2 separate regions of the Homo sapiens genome follow, and region 1 is linked to region 2. The links are contacts of gene promoters, found by promoter capture Hi-C in blood cells and fetal thymus (Javierre and others, 2016). All regions are on one chromosome and are shown on one strand. Each heading gives the region's core, a stretch centred on a gene start or on the middle of the fragment in contact. The rest is flanking DNA. Distances are from core to core; before and after follow the strand shown.

The links. The method cuts DNA at HindIII sites, captures the fragments that hold promoters and counts their contacts. A CHiCAGO score of 5 or more calls a contact.
Region 1: a fragment that was not itself captured here is called in contact with the fragment with the promoter of SLC34A1 in region 2 in 9 of 17 cell types (non-activated CD4 T cells, total CD8 T cells, activated CD4 T cells and 6 more); the score reaches 8.5 in non-activated CD4 T cells.

What each region holds. Positions count from the first base shown.
Region 1 is chr5:177,345,680-177,348,379 of GRCh38, reverse strand. All of the region lies in intron 2 of LMAN2 (lectin, mannose binding 2), which reads left to right. It also overlaps the pseudogene RPS20P17. Among named protein-coding and RNA genes, the nearest start is that of LMAN2, 4.6 kb to the left of the region's middle. The HindIII fragment of the contact is 1,113 bases long and covers 786-1,898 here.
Region 2 is chr5:177,383,097-177,385,796 of GRCh38, reverse strand. It overlaps SLC34A1 (solute carrier family 34 member 1), which reads right to left and starts at 1,363. Exons shown (of 13, transcript NM_003052.5): 1 at 1,310-1,363; 2 at 1-102. The coding sequence starts at 55. The HindIII fragment of the contact is 19,795 bases long and covers 1-2,700 here.

The DNA of each region.
Region 1 (2,700 bases), core at 93-2,592, 37 kb after region 2:
TGTACTTTCATTTCCACACAGAATATTATCCTAATGCAATATATTTAATGCTTGAAAATGTTATTCATTAGCCTACCATATTCTTCTGCAAGTAAAATTAATATAATAATTTAAACTTTTCAATTTTGTTGAGACTGAAACTTTTAATATTTTGTTTGAGATTATTATAATTATCTGTACACACTTGATAAAAGTAAATGCATTACACAGTTTTTGAGTAATTATACAAAAGTAAACATTTTTTGAAACATGAGATCTCAGTAGGATGTCACCCCCCACCCCCATCTGGATGGATAATACTGTCAGAATAAGACAAGTTCAGTACCACTTCTACTTTTTGTTTTTATGTACATGAATTCTGAGAAACTGTGTTCTCTTAAATAGTAGTTGGAGATGGGGTTATTTTTAAAATTTTAAATTTCTATTATAGATGGGATCTTACTATGTTGCCCAGTCTTATCTTGAACTCTTGGACTCAAGCAATCTTCCCACCTCAGCCTCTGAGTATCTGGGACACAGGTGCTCACCACCACTGTGCCTGGCACAGCGGGAGTTTTGGTAGAGCAGCATCACTGAATATTTTGATCTTCTTTTGGTTTATAAACCCAACGTCATGCAGTGATCTTTTATCAAAATTTTTGATGATGTTTCGGCTGACTGTTGATTACATCTGCATTCCGTTTCGTTGCAAGCAGAGATGTGGAAACTGCTGAACTGTAAAATAGCCTCTTATTGCCAGGTGATTCTGATGTAGTTGGCCTGGTGTAGGACCAAGGCATTAAGCTTTCTGAGCTCCCCAGGTGGGTTTGCTGTGGGTTAAGAACTGTGGTCATATCGTGTTTGTCCCCAAAAGCAGCTTCTGAATCATTTCCAGCCTGTGCCTTGCCTGCTTAAGATCCTCCAGAGGCCTTCTATTGTCTGTATCATAGTATGTCTCTACTAATCTGCAGTTTTAATCTGGGGTCATGAAGACTTTCCAAGGCCTGCGTAGTCCTGGAGGAGTCTGTTTCCAGGTCCTCCACTGTCTCATGTGCTCATTCCTGAAACCAGCCTCCCCGTGAACATGCTGGGAATGGGTGTGTGGGTTTTCCTTTCCCACCTCCCTCACTCAGTTGCCCTTCTGCTCTGAGGTCAGCCTCCCAACAGCCTGGTCTTTCTTCAGGGTGTTGTCCCCAGGTGCAGAAAACTCCTGGGCACCAAAGAGACCATTTGAAATCTGGTTTCTGGGCTGACTTTTGTACATGTGAGATATTTTTTTTTAAAGTTTTCAAATATATGAGGGCTATTTTAGTTATCTTTTAAAATTGTTTATTATTGTTAGATAGCTGATGGAATTGCATCATGGTCAGATTTTTTGGACGCGTTCTGTTTGTGCTTATGAATGTGGATTCTCTACTTGTTGACTACAGTGTGCCACGTAGGTTCTTTAGGTCAAACTTGCTTTCTGAGCTTCCCAGGTGGGTCTGCTGTGCAGCCAGGGTTAAGATTGAGTTCGGATCTTCTCTAGCTTTCCTCATGTTTTTGTCTGCTTGCTTTTATAAGTTACTAAGAGAGCTTTGTTAAAAATTTCTGTGTATGGCTGGGCAAGGTGACACGTGCCTGTAAGTGTCAGCTACTGGGGAGGCTGAGGCAGGAGGATTGCTTGAGTCAAGGAGTTCAAAACCAGCCCAGGCAGCATAGTAAGACCCCATCTCAAAAAAAAAAAAAGTGTTAAAAAAATTTCTGTATATGGATTTGTCTGCATCTTTGTAGTTCTGTCAGTTTCTGTTTTATATGTTTTGAGGCCAAATTAGGTACATACAAAAACTTAGATTTATTATATCTGTAGGTAAATGGAATCTTTTATCATTAAGAAGAACCCCTTTTTACATTTTGTTATGGGTATAGCTATAGAAGCTTGCTTTTTTTAAAAAAAAAACAACAACCGGTAATCAATTTATTAAAATAGTCAACTTTAAATATCTGCAATGGTGACTTCCACCTCAACTCCTGGCTCAATACTGATGGAAGTAATCTGCTTAATCTCAGAAGGACTGTGGAGGTCAGTGAGCCACTTGTGGATTCTCATCTGGAAACGATCCCGTGTGTTAGAACCTTCACAAGGAGTTTTTCTTGTGGTGATTCTCGAAGCCTTGATAGGCGTTCCAGCTGGTCTTTTCACTTTGAGATTCTTTTCCTTTGCTCCTCTGATCAAGTCAGCACACACCTTTTCTGGGGATTCTATGTTGCAGCTCATTAAAGTGATTCAGATTCAGTGAATTGTCACCTCTGGCTCCGCAGGTTTTCTTCAGGTATCTTTAAAGCCGTGGGTGGGCCGGGTGCGGTGGCTCACGCCTGTAATCCCAGCACTTTGGGAGGCCGAGGCAGGCAGATCACCTGAGGTCGGGAGTTCGAGACCATCCTGGCCAACACGGTGAAACCCCGTCTCTATTAAAAATACAAAAATTAGCTGGGTGTGGTGGCGGGCGCTTGTAGTCCCAGTTACTCTGGAGGCTGAGGCAGGAGAATTGCTTGAACCTGGGAGGCAGAAGTAGCAGAGAGCTGAGATTATGCCACTGCACTCCAGCCTGGGCGACAGAGCGAGACTGTCTCAAAAAATAAATAAATAAATAAATAAATAAATAAATAAATAAATAAATAAATGCATGCCATGGCTGCTGCGAGCCTTCCTGACCAACTTGTTCCTCAGCCAGAGCAAAC
Region 2 (2,700 bases), core at 114-2,613:
GGACTGGGAGTGGGGAGACAGCAGGGGACCCCAGCCTCTCTCCGTAGGACAACATCCTGGGCACCCACTATGAGGTCTGCAGGTCAGTGGGTCTCAGCAACGCTGAATGACAATAGCTGTGTCCGGGACACTCATGCCCACACACCCTCACCTGCACAAACCCCCATGGCGCATGATTCCAAATACACACCTAGCAAAGCACACCCTCCATCCTCACCACACACACACACCCCTCCGAGACTCACACGCACAAACACACACCCAGCAAACCACACCCTCCATCATCACCACCACAGCCCTCCGAGACTCACATGCAGACTCACATGTGCACATCTGTGCTGGGCACCTGCATGTGAGTCTCGGAGGGGTGTGTGTGGTGGTGGTGAGGTGATCATTCATTCACCATTCACTCATTCAATGAGTATTATTGAGCTCTAGCCCAGGCTCCGAACCAGAGGCTTGGATATAGCATTGATAAAAGACACTGAGAACTGAGGACGCCCAGCCTGTTTGGGGCTGGAGGGGGCCAGGGAATACGTGGTGTTGGCAGTGGCTGCAGGTGTGGGCTGGGGCTGGGCCGGGCTTCAGTTTTGCCCACCTGGAGAGCAAGGAGGAGCTGCAGACACCTGCCTTCTCATGGGGTCAGCTGGGCACACACGGAGATCCCCTGGGCCGGATCCCGAGTTCCTGGGTTCCCCTCACAATGAATTCCTTTCCCCATCCACCCCCTCAAGGGGCAATGAACAAACACTGACAGGCTTGCCTCAGCCCCCCCTTGTCCCCGCACTGCCCCAGGAGTCTTGGCTATTGGGGTGGAGTGCCCTGATCTGCCTCAGCACTCCCCGCATTGTCCCAGCGTCCTTGGCTGTTGTAGGGGTGTGAAGAGTTGAATTCAAGTCCTGAAGGAGCAGGAGTCCTTTTTTTTTTTTTTTTTGAGATGGAGTTTCACTCTTACCGCCCAGGCTGGAGTGCAGTGGCACAATCTTGGCTCACTGCAACCTCTGCCTCGTGGGTTCAAGCGATTCTCCTGCCTCAGCCTCCCAAGTAGCTGGGATTACAGGTGCCTGCCACCACACCTGGCTAATTTTTTGTATTTTTAGTGCAAACTCGACCTCAGGTGATCCGCCCACTCGGCTTCCCAAAGTGCTGGGATTACAGGTGGGAGCCACCGCGATTGGCTGGACTGACATGTTATATGGGGCGCGGTGGGGGTGGGCGCAGATAGGACACAGATGAAGGGGCTGGGGTGCTGGGCTGTTTCCTACTCAGAGCTGGGGGTGGGGTTGGGATGTGAGGGTCCTGGGCTCACCTTAGAATTCTGTGTTTCAGCTTCTGCTCAGCAGCTCAATGAAGCCTCCAGGACCCTGAGGAGAACTGAGACCCTCCTCTTTATACTCTTGGGTCAAGGGCAAAGTCCCTGGAACCCTAGCTGCCCTCCCTCTGTCCCCCAATTAACCTCACCCCTGAGATTCCTCCCAGTTAATTGCTAATCGTCAGCTCTGCATGGGGAATCTATGGTCAGGTTCTTCCCATCAACCACGACCCAGACACATCCCCCGCCTGCAGGCAGAGACCCTGATGCCACTCAGCACCTTGTTCCCAGGGTCCCCTCGTTCCTGGCCTGACAGGACTCCCCAGGGAATGACCCAAACATCCTATGGCCTTCGGAGGTTGCAGTGAGCCAAGATCGTGCCACTGCACTCCAGCCTGGGTGACAGAGTGAGACTGTCTCAGAAAAACCAAACCAAACCAAACAAAAACATCCTATGGCCTTGCCAAGCGTCGGGGTGTCTGTAAGTCTCCCAGGGGGAGCTCAGAGGAGAGGGAGTGTGAGATGAGGACCTAAGCTGGAAAGGCCGTGGAATGTTGAATCGTGGCAGGTCTCTAATGCCCGACCATGGGTCCAGGATGTGAGTCTGAGTGAATGTGGAGCCGCTGGCCAGACTGGGATGGGCCTGATCTGCCTTTTAGAATGGCCCCCGGGGTGGAACCCGGATATATGGAAGGGAGCCTGGAAGCGGAGGGGCCAGTTAAGAGGCTAATGGTCCAGGCAGGAGATGATGAGGCCTGAACTCCGATGGGAACGGAGGGGCTGGGGAGGACAGGTGCATCCCAGGGACATCTGACCAGTAGAATTGGTGACGGGGAGGGAGAGAGGAAAAGGAAATAGATGGGAGTCGGGTCTCTGGATCTTTGGCTAGGGCTGGGTTCATGCCCAGGTAGGAGGGTGTCGCTGAGTCACGGAAATGCAATCAGTTCTCAGTTCTTGTGTCAGAATCTCTGGGTCCTTGGGCTTGAAGGTGCTGTTAATGTCACATCGAGTGTCTCCACCTATGAGCAAACTGACACCCCCACAGCGGGCCCAGAGACCCCGGCCCACGTGACCTGTTTCTCTCCATTCCCCCGTGCAGTTCAGACCCTTGGCAGGAGCAGCTGAATCCAAGGTGCTCCTGGTGAACTGGGGGTGTTTCTCCTTTTTAATAAGGTTGTGCTTTTTGATATTTTTGAAGTTTGCCTTCCCTGCTGTCACGGAGCTCTGGGTTTAGTGGGGGAGGCAGTTAGCTATCGATCAAATCCATCAAGAGATATAATTCCAAAATGCTGCTGATTTACACAGCCACCACTTCTAAAGATTTATTTTGGGGCTACAGCCCTAGTGAAAGTGAGAAAATGCTGGATCTGACCAGAGCTGCTGTTGGG